2 separate regions of the Homo sapiens genome follow, and region 2 is linked to region 1. The links are contacts of gene promoters, found by promoter capture Hi-C in human tissues and cell types (Jung and others, 2019). All regions are on one chromosome and are shown on one strand. Each heading gives the region's core, a stretch centred on a gene start or on the middle of the fragment in contact. The rest is flanking DNA. Distances are from core to core; before and after follow the strand shown.

Region 1 (4,306 bases), core at 1,694-4,193:
ACTGAAAGAAGGAGGCCCAGCATCCACAGAACGCCCACGCCAGGATCGACTCACAATCATTCTGTCTATCGCTTTGCTCTGATGCAGGAGGCTGGGGTGGAACTTACCTTCCTTACAAGACCCTAGATGCCCACAACCCGAAACCCAAGGTCATGACCCTCTTCTGGCCAAGTCAGAAGCTCCACTAGGCCCTCAAGTCAAAGGAGCTGGGGTTCTTGGAGAGAATGCCTGCTTCTCCCAACAATGAGATGCAACTCGGTCAGCAGCTGCCCCTGCTGCCTGCGGGGGTGCCTTATGCAGGAGGGCCTAACCAGAGAGGTTTAATGGACCTTTGTTTATTTTGTCCTGCTTTCCCTTTGTTTTTTCTTTTCCCTGGCCTGAGAGCTCCCTCTGGAATTTCTCTTTAATTATAACTTCTTGGTATTCCTCTCCAAGGGGGTGCACATCTCTGCCCACGCCAGTCTGTATTGCACCCTCTGGCTAGGCATCCACACGTGTCCCTATCTGCAAGTAGGCATTCACAGGCATTGGGGTGGGTACCTAGGATCCCCCTGGTTGCACAGGTATAATGTCTGTGCAGAAGGCTGTAGTGTGCAAGGCCAGTTGAGACATAAGCAACGTGAAGAAGGTAAATGATGGGATCCCTGAGCCCTTGGCCCCTCCCGACACATCTTGGACCCTCCCTCAAGCCAACCAGTTGGGGATGGGATGGGGGTGGGTGGCAGGCCTCTCCCAACCCCTGTAACAGGCCTCCTAATCACCAAGGGGTTCCTTGAAGAGTTCCTGGGCTGGGTGAGGTGTGGAGAGACCTAATACATTCCATCTCATCAGCCACCCACAGGCAGGGCCAGAGGGTGCCACTGGTGCCTCCTCTCCCAGGTCAAATATTAACTATCTGGCCTTGGAAAGAGGGGAGGAATCAGGAACTGGCCAGAGGGATAACAGGAGCAATTATTCAAGAGGTAAAGGTCAGCACTGCAGGGGCAGAGCCCTGAGGGGTAGAGTCAAATATGAAAGGGAGAGAAGAGGATTCCCTGACCCTGAAAGGGCATAGGCTCCCTGTTTGGGATCTGGGACAGCAGGAAGCTTCAGGCAAGCCGGCCATGCCCCACCCCTCCCTGTGGAGGCACACCTGTTTACCTTTGGGACCTCCTATTTGCTCAGTGCAAAAGGCATGTGTGTGGGGAGCACTATGGCTAGGAGGAACATGCCCCAGGTTAGAGGAGCCACTCAGTGTGGTGCATGTCACACTTATAGTTTAAGAGTCACATGGGTGACTATTAGGAAGGTGATATACATGCACATGGGTGCACACACACACACACACACATGTTCACAAGGAGGACTGTGAACACGTGGATTCACAGGGGTCATTCACACATATACTCACAGGGAGTTTTGTGCACACATATGCTCATACAGAGGGCCACAGCCACAGGTAATCATACATATTCACATGTGACGTTGAATTTACATGCCCATCCATTCAGCAGGTCACACAGCCTCAGACATTGAGGAGAGATAAACCCACACATGTGGGTTTGTGTCAAGGACTGTGCACCTATTCAACAGGAGGGTCCTATACATACACATGTATGTGTAGGGACATGCACACAAACCCATTGATATAGTGGGCCAGGCAATCATGTTCACAGAAGGGTCAAGTACATGTGTGCTCACACGCAGTTCTTGAACACACAACTACATCCATGCAGAGACAAGCACACATGCATACAGGGGTCCAGTTTTTGCCATAGGCTTGGAGGCTGCCAGTGTCCACTGGGGTGAGATGCAGAGCAGAACCCTGCCTCTGTTCCTGAAAGTCCCAATTCTAAGGCCCAATTTCAAGTGTGTGTTTGTGTGTGGGGGTGGTGAGGGGGTTGTGTGTGTGTGTGTGTGTGGTGATGGGGGAGGCTTCTGACCTTGGATGGGCAGATGGGATGGGTGCATGAGTCAAGGCCGCTCTACAAGGGAGGGAATGGGAAAGTAACTCAGGCAGGAGGAGGCCCCTAGCTTCAGCAAAGATGGAATGGAACGCATAATTTAGTACTCCTCCACCCCTATGTATATTGCGGTTCTAAAGGTGGGAGACGGGCTGGAGCTCTCAGCCCCCACTTAACCTGTGGGAGGGGGCGGGGCTAAGTGGGCGGGGCGGAGCATATCACCCCTCCCTTCAGTGGCGAAGTACGGGTTTAAGGTCTCCAGTCCACGCCCCACACTCCACCCCAAGTTCCACAGTTCGGGTTCTTCCCCAGGGCCAGCCCCCTGAACTCTGATCACCTTTCCTCTATTAGATCTTGGGGTGGAGGGAACTGGGGAGGAGAGACCCTTCAAACAGGATCAATGGAGGATCAGCAGGCTCTCGACCTTCATCCCAGATGTCCACCTGCCTAGTGTAGGCGGTATTTCCCTCTGCCTAGTAGGATGGCGGTCTCTCCTGGCTTGAGAGAGCCCCTCCCCCGGGACCCCCTCCCTCCAACATCCTGGACAGTCCGCGGTCCTCTCCCTTCGTCAGGTCTAACCTCAGTCTCTACTGCTGCAGCTCGAGGACAAGCTCTCCTTCGATCCCGCCGGACGCCGGGAGACGTGACCCAGATCCTGGGGAACACTGTTCGCCACGCGGCCCCCTCCCCGCGCTGGTCCCCGACTCCGTGGTGGCCGGTTTGCACCCCGCGCAGCCCGAGGCCTGGCCCGCGCCCCTCTAGAGCCGTCATGCAGGACCGGGGGACTTGGTGGTGAGAAAGGCCTGGCCCAGCTTGGAGGGTAGAATGGACGTGGGGGAGGCCTTGCCCGACCCCCGGCCCGCAGCCCCAGGCTCACGCCAGGGCGCCGCCCGCACTCCTCGCCTTGCTCACCTTTGCGCTCGGATCCGGGGCCATAGAGACAGCGACGCGCGGCTCCGCGGCCCCACAGCACCAGCTGCGAGAGGAAGGGGCCGCGGCTGGAGGCGGGGCGGGGGGGGGGTGGTGGAGGCGGAGCCGGGGGTGGGGCGGGGTCCTGAAAGGCGGGGCCGACTGGGTGGGGTGAGGGGAAGGTCGCCACTCTCTTCTTTGCGCCCCCTACTCTAGCACAATAGAGGCGGTTTGAGGGCGAGGCTCACACACAGCCTTCGGCCATCGGGCGACCCCCCACCTCTAGGCGCTGCGGCCCTGAAATCGCCCCCTGGTGGTGGCCTCGCCACCCCGTGCACCCTCCACATGCTTATAGCCCGTCCTCTCCTCCGCTGTAACCCTAGGACCCCCCTGACTTGCCTACTGCTGGGGACGTGCAAACCTGTCCTGGCGTTGCGGGGTTGGGGGACCCTCTCGGAGGGCCTTCTGGCCTGTCCTCTAACCTGGACCTCACTCCCTGTGCTCCTGCCACCCGCTTCTGCTCTCGGCCTAGGGTGTGGAGGGAAGGCTACCCTAGGTGGCGACTGGACGTTAGGGAAGCTCTGAACACAAGGTAGGGGCTTGATTCCCAGCTTCAGGGGCTGTTCAGCTTGAGCTATGCGTGGGGGAGATGGGGTCAGGCCTGAAGGGGATAAAGTAACAGCCTGACCTGAAAGGCACACAGAAAATGCTTTTTCTGGATAAATAAGCCACAAGCGTTTGCACCTGTTCACTCACCAAATCTTAACCCTAACCTAGGCTCACCTCAGGGACTGGGTCATTCAAACACTTGCCTTCCCCTCCAGCTCATCTTGGGCACCATTCTTATCCAGAACTTAGAGTGCACCCTTCTAGGCAATCAAGTACCCTATCCTTCCCAGATTCAATCACCTTACCCAGCAGCAATCTAGGAAACCCCTCACAATCAACTCCCCAACTCCTTTAACTCAACTAGGATGGTCCTTCTGTGCAAACTTGGTTCCTGCCTCCTTTAATAGGTCACAGCCTATTAAAGTGAACTTAGCCCCTATAGTCCAAACAAAACCTGCATTCAGGCCCTGACCCAGCCTGGTCCTTCCTCCTCCATCCATGACAGTATTCATGTGGGCTCAAGAGATGGACCAAAATGATAAAGGCCACAGGAACATATGTGATTGACTCTTGCATGTGCCTAGGAGTCAGAACAGGATTCAAGTGGCACATTTAACTAAAGGAAACTTGGGAAAGGCTTCATCCTTCTTTCTGGATTCCCCAAAGCTCACAGTTTGGCACTGAATCATATACAATCTCGTAGTTTGGATGGCTGTGTGTGACTGCAGACTGCTAGACAGCAGGGCCCACATCACAGTTCCACCTCCCCCAACACTCTGCAAATAGGATGTGTGTGGCGGGGAGAGGGAAGGTAGCTGGGGAGAAACACAATAAAAAATGTACAC
Region 2 (3,963 bases), core at 1,273-3,772, 470 kb after region 1:
TTCTAACTATACTAAAGTTATTTATATACATATATGCATATTACCCTACTAAGTAATAGACTCCTTAAGGATAGGGACTATGTCTTGCTGATTTTTATATCCCCAAAGCGGTGCTTCACAAACTATTAATGTGCATCCACATCACTTGGGGATCTTATTAAAATTCAGAAACTGGTTCATTGAGTTGGAAGTAAGGCCCAAGATTCTGATTTTTCAGCAGGCTCCCAGTTGATGTCCTTGCAGCTGGTCGGAGGACTAGCACTTTGAATGACAAGGCCCTGAAGCACTTGGTACAATGCTTTAAATATTAGGTTTGAATTGAAAACAGATGTATAAAAGCGGAAGTTCTTGTTTTCAAAGCCAACGGTTTTACTGGGGAGGCAAGACTAACACATTCAATAGGCTGTGAGCTTAAAAAGAAAAAGAAGTAGGGAGGTAAAGAATTCTGAGGTCAAGAGGCCTGAATTCTTATCATAGCTCTGTCATTTATTAGCTGGGTAACCTTGAACAATTCATTTAACCTCTCAGGACTTAACCGTTCTTATCGGTAAAACAGGGATAGTGATGCCTGCCCAGAAAATTAACATGAACCACAAATAAGAATATATGTACACACTTTGTAAAACTATCAAGTACTATATAAATCAAAAGTTAAAATGGTTTTGTTTAGCACTAATCTGTGGTGTAGATTTTGTGCTGCAGAAGTCACGGTAAATAAGAATTCTGACTGGGAGAGTTCATTAGGAGGTGGATATTGGGAAAAGAAATGGTGAATAGTTAGGGAGTAAAGCAATAGTTATCAACGCCAAATAATCTGTACAACAAACCCCCATGACACAAGTTTACCATATAACAAACATGGACATTTACTGCATTGGATTGAATTTTTTTAACCTAAAGTAAAAATTAAAAAAAAAAAAAAGTTGTCGGCCAGGCGCTGGTGGCTTACTCCTGTAATCCCAGCACTTTGGGAGGCCGAGGCAGGTGGATCACCTGAGGTCGGGGAGTTCGAGACCAGCCTGACCAACATGGAGAAACCCCTGTCTCTACTAAAAATACAAAATTAGCCGGGCGTGGTGGTGCATACCTGTAATCCCAGCTACTTGGGAGGCTGAGGCAGGAGAATCGAGTGAACCTGGGAGGCGGAGGTTACGGTGAGCCGAGATTGCGCCATTATACTCCAGCCTGGGCAACAAGAACAAAACTCCATCTCAAAAAAAAAAAAAAAAGTTGTCAGCCTTGGATACACATTGGAATAACCTGAATAATTCAAAAAATACTGATGCCTAGTCCCATCCCCAGAGTTTCTGATTGTATTGTCTGGGGTGTGGCCTGGCAAGTCTGGATTGTTCTCCATGTGGTTTTAATATGCAGCCAATGTTGAGAACTGCTGGAGTAAAAAGGGTTTTTCTAAGGTCCTGTTTTGTGCCAGATGCTTTATATAAGGCATCTAATTTGGTGAGACGGATACTCCAGGTGGGGGTGTTGTGGGTAAAGGCACAGAAGCAGGAACACACCAGGCATTTTAGGGATGTGGAGCAATTATAATAAACAAGCAGGGAGAGAGATGCTGGGAAAGATAGGTTTGGCCCTGATTTTGCAGAGGTTTGTGCACTGCAGGAAGGGGAGCTTAAGCTCTTTCCTGTGGCCTTGTGAAACCACACAGGCTCCTGAATAGCAGCAGGTTGGTACAAGCAATAGAGGGATAGTCTAAGGCTTAATTAGAGGAGGGAAAAGAACAGAAGGCTAGCAAACTATTTTAGTAATCTGGGGGTACTGGCACTGGGAATGGGATGGAGGGGACCTGCATGAAAGACAGTGAACAAGAATAGGTAGGACTTTGTCGTTGCTTGGCTATAGGGGGTATGAAGACTTTGCTAATGCTGAGGTATTTAGCCCAGGTGACTGGGAGAATGGTGGTACCAGGACAGGTTAGCAGAAGGTGAGTCTTGTGTGGTGAAGTTTGAAGTGGGTGGTCCTAAGAGTGCAGAAGTGGTTTTGGTAGGGAGACGAATTCAATACTAAATTCCTGATCCTATTCCACCCCCCAGGAACTCTCTTATTTTATTTATTTCCTAGCCTAGGGTCAGCCATTAGATAGCCTTCTCTGTGAATCTGACTTAGTGTTACTTTTTGACTTGAAGGTATAACCTTTACCCTTCTTGCTTTTCCTCACCAGTTTGGAGGGAAGCTGGTTACTTTTGGCCTCCCCAGCACCCCTGCCCATCTGGTGCCACAGCCTTGCCCCCGCCTAGTCTTCATCAGTCAAGTCACCACAGAATCTGAATTCCTGATGCGATCAGCTGAGCTGCAGGAGGCCTTGGGATCAGGAAATCTACTGAATTACTGTCAGAACAAGAGCCAGCAAGCTTTACTGCAAAGTGAAAAGATGCTGTGGCAGTTCCTGAAGGTGGGAAGCCTGAAGGCTAGCTGCTCAGAAGTGTCTCCCCAAAGCCTGGAACTCCAACCTCTGTCAACTGCAGGAGAAGCACAAGCACACTGGGACCCAGATCACAGAGGCCTTAACTCCCATTAGTTTTTCCCCCACACTATACCCACCATCTAGACACAAAACGTTCACCCTTTACCAGAGGCTCAAAGGCCATTTGGGAAGAGGCTAGGAAAGATGGGGAATACACGAGATGTTTTCTTTTGTTGCTACTATGGTTGATGTCCTAGGTATTTTACCAGGGCCAAGGCAAAGACCTTCACGGTATCATGCCAAAGGGCAGATAAGGTAATGGGAAGGAAGAAAAAAGGGAGGAAAGAGAAAAAGAGGAGAAAGGAAAAACATTAGTTAGAAGGACATATTGTCATAAGAAGGCTTTGAGTTGGTTTCAAGTAACCCAAGGCAAGTCCTTGGAGTGGGTCCTAGGGTTCAGGTGCCACTGTACACTGGAGGCATGGGTTCAGTTCCAGTTCTCATTTAATTTCAAGTTTCCTGTGACACCAGGAGGAGTACTATACCTATCAAAGGAAATGAGCAAGTGAGAGATCTGAAGGAAGAAAGGCAAGTAGCTGACTGGTCAGTCAGTGGGATGATTGTGCAAGTTTTTGGAATTGTTTAGAAGAAAGCAAAAAGGATTGGGCCTGTACCAGGGCATCTGAGAGGGACTTGAAATTTGAGCTTTAGGCATAGTAGAGCTTTATGAAGGTGGACATCAGGAAGTTAGAGAAAGAGGATTTGAGAAAGATCTTGACTATACAGTGAAGCCAGAGAATGATGTGGGAAGAAAAGAATAAGAAATGATGCTTTTGTCATAAGCAGGATACAAGTTCCAGGAATGGTGAGATGGTAAAGAGAGGGAGTGGTCAGGAGTTCAGCCTTTACTCCGCTAAACAAAGGAGACAGTGGTACCTATAGGACAGAGGGACCTATAGGACAGGGCATTCTGGGTTTTTTTGTTTTTGTTTTTTTGAGACAGAGTTTCACTCTTGTCGCTCAGGCTGGAGTACAATGGCATGATCTTGGCTTACTGCAACTTCTGCCTCCCGGGTTCAAGCAATTCTCCTGCCTCAGCCTCCTAAATAGCTGGGATTACAGGCACCTGCCACCACGCCTGTATTTTTTTTTAGAGACAGGGTTTTTTTTTTTTTGTATTTTTTGTATTTTTTTTGTAGTAGAGACAGGGTTTCACCATGTTGGCCAGGCTAGTCTCGAACTCCTGAACTCAGGTGATCCACCCACCTCAGCCTCCCAAAGTGCTGGCATTATAGGCGTGAGCCACCGCGCCTGGCCAGGCATTCTGGTTTAAAAGCTACCCAAGAGCTGTCCATCATGATGGTTCCTGGTTGGGTGTGGTGAACATTTCCAAGGGAAGGGCATGGAAGGAGAAGGGTGCCCAGAGAGACTATGAGAAAGGTATGGTTAGAAATCATGTTTCAGTGTGGAATAAATTAAGGGCCTGGGACAGCTAACCAAGATTACGGGGGCTTCAGAAAGGTTTGCTCCTTGGTATTTGG

What was found. The method cuts DNA at HindIII sites, captures the fragments that hold promoters and counts their contacts. A contact is called where the count stands out against the background at its distance.
Region 2: a contact is called between a fragment that was not itself captured here and the fragment with the promoter of SEMA4G in region 1, in 1 of the 25 tissues and cell types used here (lymphoblastoid cells).

Annotation. Positions count from the first base shown.
Region 1 is chr10:100,968,141-100,972,446 of GRCh38, reverse strand. It overlaps SEMA4G (semaphorin 4G), which reads right to left and starts at 2,943. Exons shown (of 15, transcript NM_017893.4): 1 at 2,856-2,943. RefSeq lists a silencer at 2,927-2,986. The HindIII fragment of the contact is 9,481 bases long and covers 1-4,306 here.
Region 2 is chr10:100,500,701-100,504,663 of GRCh38, reverse strand. SEC31B (SEC31 homolog B, COPII component) reads left to right here. Exons shown (of 26, transcript NM_015490.4): 11 at 2,180-2,410. Among named protein-coding and RNA genes, the nearest start is that of SEC31B, 17 kb to the left of the region's middle. The HindIII fragment of the contact is 5,735 bases long and covers 1-3,963 here.